2 separate regions of the Homo sapiens genome follow, and region 2 is linked to region 1. The links are contacts of gene promoters, found by promoter capture Hi-C in human tissues and cell types (Jung and others, 2019). All regions are on one chromosome and are shown on one strand. Each heading gives the region's core, a stretch centred on a gene start or on the middle of the fragment in contact. The rest is flanking DNA. Distances are from core to core; before and after follow the strand shown.

Region 1 (7,046 bases), core at 596-3,095:
TACTCTGTAAACAGAAAAAAAAACAGCATGGCAGAGCAGAAAGAACATTGGAAGAGAGCTCAGGAGGCGAGATTCCACTCCTGCCCCCGCTCCACTATTAACCAATTCCAAAACCCAGACCAGCTTGGAGCCTTTCGGAAGGATTTCCTCATCTGTAGTTGGATGAGGTGATTTGCCCCTTCCGACTCTCAATACAGTCCCACTGTGCGACTGTCTTCACAGCTTTGGGGAGGTGCTATTGAGTGCCTGCTGTACACCACCCACTGAGTGTTGTCCATTCTACAATTCACTTTTAATTTCCTAAAGAATCTTACCTTCTGCTATGTTAATTCCACTCAGCCAGTAACAACTCAACCAATGACTTAGTAAGATGCCAAATGCCCCACTCCTTCTCTTTCCTCACTTCCTCTTACTCACTTCCAAGATGGCTCTCCTCCCTGCCAACCCCATAACTCACCCTTCTCTCTCCAGAAAGCTCGCTCATCTATTAACCATCCCCACAAGTCCTCCTCCCAGGCAGCATCCAACCCGTATCAGTGGGGACAAACAGCGTTCCGAATGCACGGGCTGGCATTAAGGCCTTCTCTTGCCCTGAGGATGACCCACCCGCTGGAGCTCTGAGACTCCTGGGGCACTGGTCCGTAACGCCTCTCTTGGCTCAGTTTCTCCCTAGCTAGGTCAGATGCCAAGGTTATTGCTAAGTTTGTTACTTGCTGGAGAAGACATCAAAGTTGATGTCCCAAAAAGAACAGGGAGGGCCGCGCACGGTGGCTCACACCTGTAATCCCAGCACTTTGGGAGGCTGAGGTGGGCGGATCACTTGAGGTCAGGAATTTGAGACCAGCCTGACCAACATGGTGAAACCCTGTCTCTACTACAAATACAAAAAAGTTAGCTGGGCACAGTGGCGCGTGCCTGTAGTCTCAGCTACTCGGGAGGCTGAGGCAGGAGAATCGCTTGAACCCAGGAGGCGGAGGTTGCAGTGAGCTGAGATGGCACCACTGCACTCCAGCCTGGGCAACAGAGCAAGACTCTGTCTCAAAACAAAACAAACCCCAAAAAACAAAAACAAACAAAAAAACAGTGAGAAACGAAGAAAAGAAAATCAAGAGAGAGAGAAGGGTCTTAAGACGATGAAAAGACAAGGAGAAGGGCCTGATTCAAAGGAGAGTGAGTGGGAGACGCTGAGCAAGCAGCGGGAAGAGGAGACGAGAGGAGAGGAAGCGACCCACACCCAGCGCTCCACAGGCGGCCAAGACAAGTCAAGCCCCAAAGTTCGGCCCCAACTTTGCGAGAAGTAGTTAAGTCTGAAGCCAGGGGGCCTCCCCGCAAGAGGGTGAAAGCAGCCCCCTCTCCACCACCTCTCCCGCTCCGGGACCGCAGCTCCAGGCCAGCACCCGAGGGTCTCCCTGGAGGGCGCCCCTCCCTGCACGCCCCGGGCCCGCCCCTGGGGACGCCTCTGCGCGCCTTGGCCCGCGGGGAGGCCGAGCCTGCGACGCCGCCGAGCTTGGCAGCGAGGCCCTCCCCCTAGCCCGGGTCCGACCCTGGCCTCACCCCGACTCCGACCCCCGACCCCGGCCTTACGTGTTGTCCTGGTTGAAGTTGGCGAAGAGCAGCTGGCCGGCGCCGGCCTCCCCGCTCTGGCTCGCCAGGTTCATGGCTGGGCGCGCGGCGAGTGGGCCCGGCCGGGGAGGGCGCGCGCGCGAGGGCGGGTCAGGCTGCACTCAGGGTCGGCGCCGGGCCCCGCTCGCCGCCTCGGTCGCCGCCACTCGCCACCCTGGGATCAACCGCCGCCTCATCCCGTCCCCGCTCTTGTTTATGCTCCAGAGCCGGGGCACCCGGTACGCCTGCGCGGCCCCGCCCCCGCGACGCACGGCCTCGAGCGGCGCAGTCGCACTGCGGAGGCCCCGCCCTCTCACCGCCTGCCTGGGCTTGGGTTCCGGTGGATCACGCAGGCGTGGGGACGCGTCGGGGCGCGCTGGGCCTGGCTGAGGGCGAGCGGCGGCCGCTCATGCGCATGGGGCAGAGCTGGCGGGAGTCTGTTTTCTGCGTACCCTCCTCTTAATAACACTCAATGGCCAGGCACGGTGGCCTGTAATCCCAGCATTTTGGGAGGCCAAGGCGGGCGGATCACCTAAGATCAGAAGTTCGAGACCAGCCTGGCCAACATGGTGAAACCCCGTCTCTACTAAAAATACAAGAAAAATTAGCCGGGCTTGGTGGTGTACGCCTGTAATCCCAGCTACTCGGGAGGCTGAGGCAAGATAATCGCTTGAACCCAGGAGGCGGAGATTGCAGTGAGCCGAGATCATGCCACTGCAATCCATCCAGCCTGGGCCATAGAGCGAGACTCTGTCTCAAACAACAACAAAAACAAAAACAAAAACACCCCAATGGGCCCTCCATGTGCCAATCACTGTGCTGAATGCTTCTGCGCATTACCTTATCATTTTATTATTTTGAAAGACAAGGTCTCGCTCTGTTGCCTAGGCTGGAGTGCAGAGGCTCAATCACAGCTCACTGCAGCCTCAAACTCAGGCTCAAGCGATCCTCCCACCTTAGCCTCCCAAGTAGCTGGGACCACAAATGCATGCCACCACACCCTGCTAACTTTTAAGTTTTTTGTAGAGATGGGGTGGGGGCGGGGGGGGTCTTACTCTGTTGCCTAGGCTGGTCTCGCACTCCTGGCCTCAAGTGATGCTCCCACCTCGGCCTCCCAAAGTACTGGGATTACAGATGTGAGCCACTGTGCCCAGCCACATTATCTTATTTGATGCCCATTACAATCCTAAGTAGAGAATAGTATATCTTAATTTTACAGATTTGAAAATCGAGGCTCAGAAATAATTATTAGCCAAGTGCTAGATCTGAGACTGGAAACGTCCTGTTTCTCCAAGGTCCATACTGTCTGGGTTCCTGGGACAGAATCGTCCCTTAAATTTATTCATTCATTCAACAGTATTTAGGACGCACCTCTCATGTGAACTAAATAGGCCTCCTCCTTTCCCTCAGAGAAGTTATAATGGGGAGATATTTAAATATAAATAGAAGGCCAGGTGTGGTGGCTCTTACCTGTAATCCCAGCACTTTGGGAGGCTGAGGCGGGTGGATCACCTGAGGTCGGGAGTTCCAGACCAGCCTGGCTAACATGGTGAAACCCCGTCTCTACTAAAAGTACAAAAGTTAGCTGGGTATGGTGGTGGGCACCTGTAATCTCAGCTACTAGGGAGGCTGAGGTGGGAGAATTGCTTGAGCCCCACAGGTGGAGGTTGCAGTGAGCCGAGATTGCACCTCTGCACTCCAGCCTGGACGGACGACAGAGTGAGACTCCATCTAAAAAGTAAAATAAAATAGGCTGGGCATGGTGACTCACGCCTGTAACCCCAGCACTTTGGGAGGCTGAGGCAGGTGGATCACCTGAGGTCATGAGTTTGAGACTAGCCTGCCCAACATGGTGAAACCCTGTCTCTAGGAAAAATGTAAAATATTAGCCAGTTGTGGTGGCACGGCCCTGTAATCCCAGCTACTCAGGAGACTGAGATGGGAGAATTGCTTGAACCCAGGAGGTGAAGGCTGCAGTGAGCCGAGATCATGCCACTGCACTCCAGCCTGGGCGACACAGTGAGACTCCATCTCAAAAAATAAAATAAATAAATATAATTAGAAACTCGGGGGTACAATGAGCGAATATATATATATATATATATATATATATATTTTTTTTTTTTTTTTTTTTTTTTTTGAGACGGAATTTCACCTTCTTGACCAGGCTGGAGTGCGATGGCGCAATCTCGGCTCACTGCAACGTCCACCTTCCGGGTTCAAGTGATTCTCCTGCCTCAGCCTCCCGAGTAGCTGGGATTACAGGTGTGCACCATCACGCCCAGTTAATTTTTGTATGTTTAGTGGAGACGGGATTTCTCCATGTTGGTCACGCTGGTCTCGAACTTCCGACCTCAGGTAATCTGCCTGCCTCGGCCTCCCAAAGTGCTGGGATTACAGGCATGAGCCACTGTGCCTGACCATGAATGCATATATAGAAGTCACACAACCTATATTTAAGGGACAGGGACTGTGCTATTGAGAAGGCTCCTGGAAGAGATGAGACCTGAAGTTTGAGTAACTAGTCTAAGGGCATGAAAACACTCTATATGGGAAGGGCTTGAGGATGAGGGTGTGACCTGTCCAAAGAACTCTATGTTCAGAGTGGAAAGGCAGACACAAGGCAAGATTTGGCAGGAGAGACAGGAGGTGGCCAGATCAAGCTGCGTATTGTTACGCAAGGAACTGACCATTATCTGATTATTGTCCATAAGAGCAATGGTCTGCCGTTAAAGACAGGCAGGAAAGTGGAACGATCTAATGAGTGCTTACAGAAGTTAATTCTAATTATAGGGTCAAGAACGCATTGGAAATCATTGAGGAAAGGATGGTCTTTTCAATAAAAGGAATAAGTACCCCTACCTCACACCATATTCAAAAATTAATTTGAGATGGATTACAGTCCTAGATGTGAGAGGTAAAAACAATAGAATTTCTAGAAGGAAACGAGAATGCCTTCATGATTTTGGGATAAACAAAGTAGTCTAAACAGGTACTTTAAAGCGGATGTGTTGGCTCATGCCTGTAATCCCAACACTTTGGGAGGCTGAGGCAGGCGGATTGCTTGAGTCCAGGAGTTTGAAACCAGACTAGGCAACATGGGGAAACCCGGTCTCTACAAAAATACAAAAATTAGCTGGGCGTGGTGGTGTGCGCCTGTGGTCCCAGCTCCTTCAGAGGCTAAGGCGGGAGGATGGCTTGAGCCTGGGAGTTCAAGCCTGCAGTGAGCTATGACCGCGCCACTACACTCCAGCCTGGGTGACAGAGCAAGATCCTGTCTCAAAACAAAACAAGTTCTTTAAAAAGTAGTAACCACAGGCCGGGCGCGGTGGCTCACGCCTGTAATCCAGCATGTTGGGAGGCCAAGACAGGCAGATCACGAGGTCAGGAGATCGAGACCATCCTGGCTGACATGGCGAAACCCCGTCTCTACTAAAAATACAAAAAATTAGCCGGGTGTGGTGGCTGGTGCCTGTGGTCCCAGCTACTCAAGAGGCTGAGGCAGGAGAATGGCGTGAACCCGGGAGGTGGAGGTTGCAGTGAGCTGAGATCGCACCACTGCACTCCAGCCTGGGTGACAGAGCGAGACTCTGTCTCAAAAGAAAAAAAGTAGTAACCACAAAATGAGAGATTGGCCTTCATCAACATTGAGAAGAATGGGCTATTTTCAAGAGACCATTAAGAGAGGAAGAAAAGGCAAGATTTAGAGATACATATATTTATTTTATATATATATATATATATATATATATATATATATATTTTTTTTTTTTTTTTTTTTTTTTTTTTTTTTGAGACGGAGTCTTGCTCTGTCACCAGGCTGGAGTGCAGTGGTGCGATCTCGGCTCACTGCAACCTCTGCTTCTAGGGTTCAAGCGATTCCCCTGCCTCAGCCTCCCAAGTAGCTGGGACTACAGGCGTGTGCCACCACACCAGGCTAATTTTTTGTGTTTTAGTAGAGATGAGGTTTCACTGTGTTGGCCAGGATGATCTCAATCTCCTGATCTCGTGATCTGCCCGCCTTGGCCTCCCAAAGTGCTGGGATTACAGGCATGAGCCACCACGCCCGGCCTGCAATATATATATTTTTGACAAAGGAATTATACCCAGAACTTCTGCGCATCAATAAGAAAAATATAGACAGCTTTTTTTTTTTTAACTGGGCAAAATACTTGAACACAAGCACTTCACAAAAGAGGATATCAGAATGTTAATGAGCACCTGAAAAGGTGGTCATCGTTAATACTCATTAAGAAAATGTAAATTAAGGCTGGGTGTGGTGGCTCACACCTGTAATCCCAGCACTTTGGGAGGCCAAGGTGGGAGGATCACCTGAGGTCAGGAGTTCGAGACCAGCCTGGCCAACACGGTGAAACCCTGTCTCTACTAAAAATACAAAAATGAGCTGGGCCTGGTGGTAGGCACCTATAGTCCTAGCTACTCGGGAGGCTGAGGCAGGAGAATCGCTTTAACCTGGGAGGCAGAGGTTGGAGTGAGCCGGGATCACACCACTGCACTCCAGCCTGGATGACAGAGCAAGACTCCATCTCAAAAAAACCAAACAAACAAACAAAAAAAGAAAATGCAAATTAAGGGCAAATGAGGTATTACTAAGCATCCACCAAATTGGCTAAAATTAAAGCAACTGACAATCCCAAGTGTGGATGACCATAGAGCGCAATTGGAACTCTCATACACTGTGGATGGAGTCTCGCTCTGTTGCCCAGGCTGGAGTGCAGTGGCACGATCTCGGCTCACTGCAAGATGAAAGTCTAAATTGTTTCAACCACTTTGGAAAACTTGGGCACTACCTACTAAAGTTTTGTTTTTGTTTTTTGTTTTTTTGTTTTTTAAATGGAGTTTTGCTCTTGTCGCCCAGGCTGGAGTGCAGTGGCACAATCTTGGCTCACTGTAACCTCAGCCTCCACCTCTTAGGTTCCAGCGATTCTCCTGTCTCAGCCACCCAAGTAGCTGGCATTACAGGCACCCACCACCACGCCCGGCTAATTTTGGTATTTTTAGTAGAGACGGGGTTTCACCTTGTTGGTCAGGCTGGTCTTGAATTCCTGACCTCAGGCCACCACGCACGGTCTATTTACTAAAATTAAACATATATATACCTTTTGACTCGGCCAAATGCACTGTATATGCATTTCTAGGTGCATATACAGTAGAATTAGTGCATATTTTCACTAAAAGACATAAATAAGAATGTTCATAGCTACTGCATTCATAATAAAGTGCTGAGATTACAGGCGTGATTCACCGCACCTGGCTTGGTAATGTACTTTCATACTTTCTTTAATAAGTCTGCCAATCACAGCACTTTGGGAGGCCGAGGAGGGCGGATCATGAGGTCAGGAGATCAAAACCATCTTGGCTAACATGGTGAAACCCCGTCTCTACTAAAAATACAAAAAATTAGCCAGGCGCGGTGGCGGGCG
Region 2 (6,800 bases), core at 812-3,311, 430 kb after region 1:
GGCAGCTGCGATCACTCCAGCCGGTGTGGTTACAGCACCACTGGGCTCCTCCACCCGGGACCTTTTGACCTCGGGCTCTCCAGTGGAAGAGGCGGAGGCAGAGGCGGTGGTGGCAGTGGCTGGGGTGGTGGTGGCCGTGGCCGCGACGGCTGCTGCTGGCTCCTTGGGCCCCACCTCGCACACCCGGGTGACCACCACCGGCGCGGATGAACTCGCTTGGGTCGCAAGGAGCTGCAAAGGGCTGGTGAGGGCTGGAGTGGAGGAAGAAGAGGGTTACTCTGGGGTCTGGTTAGGACCCAGCTGCTTTTTTCAAGTCCCCTATACAGGGGCTAAGCCACCAAGCCGGAACCGGAGGTCAGTGCACCCCTGCCAGGCAGGACGGCTACCCTTGCTCTGCTCCCTGCGGGCCCTGCCGTCCCCTCCCCACCTCATCTGCCCTGTCTCTGCTGGCTCCAGCCTGTTGGGTGGAGGCCCCTCTCATTGCTGTCTAGATCCTGCTGGACATCGACGGCTTGCCTCACTCCTTTACACAGATGCACTGCCCTGAGCCACCCCACTGACAATGCGCCCGGTGCCCTGGTACCCTGCACCCCCGCCCAGCACCCTTGCACCCCAGCACCCCAACTCTCCTCCTTCCTTTGACCTCTTGCCTCACCCCATGGAGTGTGAGCTCCAGAGAGTGGGCAGATCTGGGTTTTCCTTCCACCCTGTTTTCTTTCCCCCCACTTTTTTTTTAAAGGGACAGGGTCTCGCTCAGTCACCCAGGCTGGCAGGTAGCGGAGCAATCACAGCTGACTACAGCCTCACTCTCCCAAGCAGCTGGGACCATGAGCGTGCAACACCACACCTGGCTAAGTTTTTGAATCTTATGTAGAGATGGGGTCTTGCTATGTTGCCCGGGCTGGTCTCGAACTCCTGAGCTCAAGCGATCTGCCTGCCTTGGCCTCCCAAGGTGCTGGGATGATAGGTGGCCCCTTCCACCCTCTTTTTCTTTGCATTACCCCAGTGCCTGGAGTATAGCAGGTGCTCAATAAATTGAACTGAGTGGAGGATCGGGAGATACTGGGAGAACATTCTCATGCCGCACTGACTACTGGGAGCCACAGAGCTTGGGATGTGGCATGGAGAACAGGGCCAGGGCCTCACCGTAAGCGTTGCCGGCTAAACTGTTCGTGGGAACCGCATGCTTTCCGTTCTGGGTCACGGCCCGGACTGGAAGGTGGTGCTGCCCGAGGGTCACGGGTGTGGCGGGCTGCAGGATGGTGACCGTGTGTCCGGGGACCCCGGGGGCCATCTGGCTGGCCACCGTCTGGATGACTCCACCAGCCGCGGGGATTGTGGCAAACGCAATGGTGGGTTTCTCCTCCAGGCCTGCGGGACAGGAACCAAGTCAGCACCACACTCGGCCAACGAGACAATCGATTTCCTCGACGCCTGGGCAGCAGGTCGGACAAGTGGGGAAAGTGAGGTCGGCACTGGGAAAAAATAGGTTTGCTAGAGGAAAATCCCATGGGTGAAATAGGTTTGGGAAGAAAATTACTAGGGTTTTAGAACAATATTTTACTTACTTATTTATTTTTTGAGACAGAATTTTGTTGCTCTGTCGCCCAGGCTGGAGTGCAGGGGTGCCATCTCGGCTCACTGCAACCTCCGCCTCCCGGGTTCAAGCGATTCTCCTGCCTCAGCCTCCTGAGTAGCTGGGACTACAGGCGCCTGCCACCACACCCGGCTAATTTTTGTATTTTCAGTAGAGATGGGGTTTCACCATGTTGGCCAGGCTGGTCTTGAACTTCTGACCTCAAGTGATCTGCCTGCCTCAGCCTCCCAAAGTGCTGGGATTACAGGCGTGAGCCACCGCGCCCGGCCTAGAACAGTATTTTAAATACCTTAGCTTTAACCAACCCAAATTTAGTCTGAGAAAGAAAACGTATTACTTGGAATGAAATGATCCTGATTACAGCTGTAACTTGGCCTTCCCTCACCAAACTGCAGTTTCATTACGGCAGCATTGAAACAAACACCACCGCGGAGAGGAAGTCCAGGGTGGAGAGTGGCCTAGGAGGGCGCTGCCTAACTGCAGGCGTTCCGGAGAGGAGCTTCTGGGGTCAGCTGCATGTTCAGTGTCTACCCCGTCAAGCCCTGGGATCGGATTTCTTTTAGCAATTCAGAACTACTTTTTCCCTAAATGACTTCTAAAGTCTTTAACTTACGAGGGAGTCGAAAAGAACAGTCTTCCCAGGCTCATTCTTTCTCCTGCAGAAAACACTAAATTCCAAATGCATGCAAGGCCGCAACACAACTCAATTTAACGTTACCTTAGGGCAAGGACACAGCTATGTGCATCCGAGGGCCCTGTTCAACAAGGAAGGACACATCTGCGGAGATTCATGGGTTTTTTTTTTTTTGAGACAGGGTTTTGCTCTGTCGCCCAGGCTGGAGTGCAGTGGCGCAGTCTAGCTCACTGCAACCTCTGCCTCCAGGCTTCAAGCGATTCTCCTCCCTCAGCCTCCTGAGTAGCTGGGACTACAGGAGCGCATCATCATGCCTGGCTAATTTTTGTATTTTCAGTAGAGACGGGGTTTCAGTATGTTGGCCAGGCTGACCTCGAACTCCGGACCTCAAGTAATCCACCCGCTTTGGCCTCCCAAAGCACTGGGATTATAAGCATGAGCCACCTGCCCAGCTCATGCTGATTTAAAGGGACAAGGCAGCGAGAGGCAGAAGCAGAGAATCATCCTCCTCAAGCCCCAGGCCCAGGCCAATGGCGCTGCCTTGGGGACTTGCCGGCCGGGACCACCACAAAGGGTCCTGCGAAGGCTGCCAGCCGCGGCTGCATTACCTCTGGCCTCGCTGCCCAGGTCCAGCACGGCTGCGCCCGCCGCATCATGGGAGCCCCCCGCCGCGCCCTGGCTGGTGAGGATGTATCCGTTGGCCGAGTTGGCAGATGTGGTGACCACCCTGACCATGGTGACGGTGGGGGCCTGCTGCACGACGTGGATGGCGTGGCCCGCGGGCTGCTGTGAGGTTACGATGGAGGCGGGCATGTAGGCCACGGGCTTGGCCACGAGGCTGGACGGTCGGGGAGGCACGGCCATGATCACTGGCTGGGCGCTGACGGGGGAGCCTGCACGGAGGGCGGAGAGCGGACGGTGACCCCTCCCGCACCCCCACGAGTCCCGCCCCGCCCCGCCCCGCAAGAGGGCCGCCCGCTCCTTACCGGGTGCGCTTTGGGAATACCGGTACTCTGGGACAGAAGCTAACTTGGACCCAAACTCAGGGTCGTGTGGAATGGGGGAGCCCTCCCGAGACAGGCACTCTGGGGTCTGCAGGCCGCCGGAGCGAGGGGACATCAGCCCGGGGTGTGTGGGCGAAGCTGGAGCGCTCCTGGAAGACAGGCAAGGGCCGCGGCAGTCAGCGCCCGCGCTGAGGGATGCGAGGACGTTTCCGAGACATCACGCATCTCAGCGCCGTCACCCGCCCACGCTCCCTGGAGCTCGTCTCTGTCCTCCGCATTCAGACGGTGAGAAACGCCCCCGTAACCTGAACCCAGCCTTTAAAACTCCATTTGAGTGGGGGCTGCATGGGGGAGGCTCCGTTCCATGAGAGGGGACGGTATCATGTGAGGTGCTGCAGTGAACGCAACAACCTACGGAGTTCACTTCCACCGAGGTCCAGCCAGGTGTCCATGAAAATGGCCCAGGCCTTCTGTGCCAAAAACATAAGCTTCTGTTTGGTGGGCGCAACCGTTCCACCATGAAAACTCTACCCGAGAGGGGTGTTTGAACGTCATTTGGAGCTCAGTTTAAATGCTGCAAATGACGTTCGAACACTTTTTTGAAGTCCTACCTCAACCATACGCCCAGTTCACCTGAGAATCACAATGCCAGACCCTGTGCTCGAAATGAATTTTCAGATATTTCAATCTTTCATCAAATCGTGTTGGAAACAGAATTTTGAAATGGGAAGCACGAGAGGTTAACGTGTCCTTCCACGGGGAAGGATTTCCGAGACTGCCGCTCAGGAGATCTCCTCCTCGACACCTGGGACGGGCTCATCTGATGGGCAACCTGGGAAGCGCTGCCCAGACCGCTCACAGGCGGTGCATGCTCCTCCAGACTGGGCTTGGCCAAGACTGAGCTGGGCAGGGGAGGCCCTGACGCAGCAGGTGGGCAGCAATGGCTGGGGGAGGGTCTGTCCACCCCGCCGGCAGCAGAGCTGCGTTCCCAGCATCTGCGAAAAGCAAAGGCGGTTGTGGGCTCCCCAGGTCATACCCCTCATCTGTCCCTTCGAAGATTGGGCTCTCCCCGGGTCCTCTCACACACTGCAACAGAAAGCTTAGTGCTACCAAAAGACCCACAACCGCAATCCATTTATTCTTGGCCTTAGGAACCGTTCCTATTGCTACACACATTTCCACTTCTAAGAACTAAAATCTTATTTTTAATACAACAGTCAGTGGCTTACTTAGTAACCTTACTATTTTAGGAGTTCTTGGTCCTGAGATATTCTCTCAAAACAAAAACAGAAAATGGTGCAGTCTTTAAGTGCCGAAACCAGCAGTCACCCCTCGGTACTTGAGGGGCGGGGGTTGTGGGTACCAAATCTGCAGATGCTTACCCAAGTTCCTCATAGAAATGGTGTCGCATTTGCATACAACCTGTGCACATCCTCCTGTAAGCTTTAAATCATCGCCAGGTTACTTATAATCCCTAACAAATGTACCTGCTATGTAAACAGCTGTTGTAGTGTGTATTGTTTCATTTGTATTACTTTTTTTTTTTTTTTTTTTTTTTTTTTTTTGAGACGGAGTTTTGCTCTTGTCGCCCAGGCTGCAGTGCAGTGGTACATACAATCTCGGCTCACTGCAACTTCTGCCTCCGAGATTCAAGCGATTCTCCTACCTCAGCCTCCCCAGTAGCTGGAATTACAGGCACCTGCCACCATGCCCGACTAATTTTGAATTTTTTTAGTAGAGGCAGGGGTTTCACCATGTTGGCTAGGCTGGTCTCAAACCCCTGACCTCAGGTGATCCACTTGCCTCGGCCTCCCAGAGTGCTGGGATTACAGGCGTGAGCCACCGCGCCGGCCTTCTTTTTTTTGGAATATTTTTGACCTGTGATCAGTTGCATGCCCGTACACTGAGCCTGAGCCCACAGATCCGGAGGGCTGACTGCGCCACGTATCTCTAAACTCCAGGGCAGCTCAGCTTTCCTAACAGCTGGAGGACGGGCGCTCAGAGAACTTTACCTTGAGGACAGAGGCCCGAAGGGGGTGCGGAAGCAGGAGACACCCCTCTGCCTCCGTTTCCGGAATGCCTGTTCCACGAGCTTGGCTTCAGAGGCAGGGTCTATTCGCCAAAAGGACCCCTTCCCAGGCTCCTCCTGGGAACGTGGGACTTTGATAAAGTAACGGTTCAAAGAGAGGTTGTGCCGGATAGAATTCTGCAGGGAAGCAGAGATATTCACCCATCACCAGCAAATCAGAAAATGAGTCCCACCCACCTCAAATCTGCAGCAGATGCGGGACCAGGGTGAGGGGAGGCCGTCCCTCTGTGCAGAGCCCTTGGTGCTGTGCTGGCTGGGCCTCACGGGAGCAGCACCGAGGCACAGGGCAGGTCATTCCTATCAAAATTTGACACCGCATAATTACCATTTTACCTTTTTTTTTTTTTTGACGGAGTCTCATTCTGTCGCCCAGGATGGAGTGCAGTGGCACGATCTCGGCTCACTGCAAGTTCCGCCTCCCGGGTTCAAGGGATTCTCCTGCCTCAGCCTCCTGACTAGCTGGGACTATGGGCGTGGGCCACCATGCTGGGTTGATTTTTTTGTATTTTTAGTTGAGATGGGGTCTCACACTCTTGGGCTTAACCAATCCTTCCACCTCGGCCTCCCAAAGTGCTGGGATTACAGGCATGAGCTACTGTGCCTGGCTGCCATTACCATTCTTTACAGAAAAAGTGAAACAGAAAGACAGATCCTGGTCTAGGAGCACATCTGGGAGAAAGAAAACACTGGGTCTTGGCCGGGCACAGTGGCTCACGCCTGTAATCCCAGCACTTTGGGAAGCCGAGGCTGGCAGGATTACCTGAGGTCAGGAGTTTGAGACCAGCCTGGGCAACATGGTGAAACCCCATCTCTACTAAAAATACAAAAAATAGCCAGGTGTGGTGGTGGGCACCTGTAGCCCCAGCTACTTGGGAGGCTGAAGCAGAAGAATCGCTTGAACCTGGGAGGCGAAGGTTGCAGTGAGCTGAGATCGCGCCACCACACTCCAGCCGGGATGGCAGAGCGAGATCCTGTCTCAAAAAACAAACAAACAAACAAAAAACCAAAGCTAGTGGATGCGCTACACTGACATTGGAGAAAATACAGGCAAATGCAACATGCATCAGTCATGGCTGGTGTGGACAAAGCTCTTAAAATGCCATCCACAATTCAGACATGTGGATTGTTTGAATAACAGTATATGGTACATTTTTCCAACTTAACGTGGGATTGTGAGGCACAGCAAGCACAAAAATCTAACAAGGTGTAGATCCATCTTCTCAGTTCTGGGGCTCAGAAGAAGGAAACTAATAAAAAAGAGTATTTAGACACAATGGTATCACAGCGCTAATGCCTTTCAGATGTACCATATGCCATTCGTGAAAACATCCCTCTTTTATATTTATCTTCTTAGTTAAAAAGATATTTTTTTTCTTTGTAGACACAGGGTCTTTCTCTGTCTCCCAGGCTGGAGTGCAGTGGTGTGATCATAGCTCACTGCAGCCTCCACCTCCTGGGCTCAAGTGATCCTCCCAC

The links. Contacts are between HindIII fragments. The study calls those that stand out against the background at their distance.
Region 2: a fragment that was not itself captured here is called in contact with the fragment with the promoter of WIPI2 in region 1 in 1 of the 25 tissues and cell types used here (dorsolateral prefrontal cortex).

Annotation. Positions count from the first base shown.
Region 1 is chr7:5,185,032-5,192,077 of GRCh38, reverse strand. It overlaps WIPI2 (WD repeat domain, phosphoinositide interacting 2), which reads right to left and starts at 1,845. Exons shown (of 13, transcript NM_015610.4): 1 at 1,585-1,845. The coding sequence starts at 1,658. RefSeq lists silencers at 1,351-1,400, 1,411-2,060, 4,734-4,863. The HindIII fragment of the contact is 24,553 bases long and covers 1-7,046 here.
Region 2 is chr7:4,755,635-4,762,434 of GRCh38, reverse strand. FOXK1 (forkhead box K1) reads right to left here. Exons shown (of 9, transcript NM_001037165.2): 5 at 5,248-5,441; 6 at 3,218-3,384; 7 at 2,840-3,124; 8 at 1,147-1,371; 9 at 1-251. Among named protein-coding and RNA genes, the nearest start is that of AP5Z1, 17 kb to the left of the region's middle. RefSeq lists an enhancer at 815-2,014. The HindIII fragment of the contact is 4,891 bases long and covers 1-4,506 here.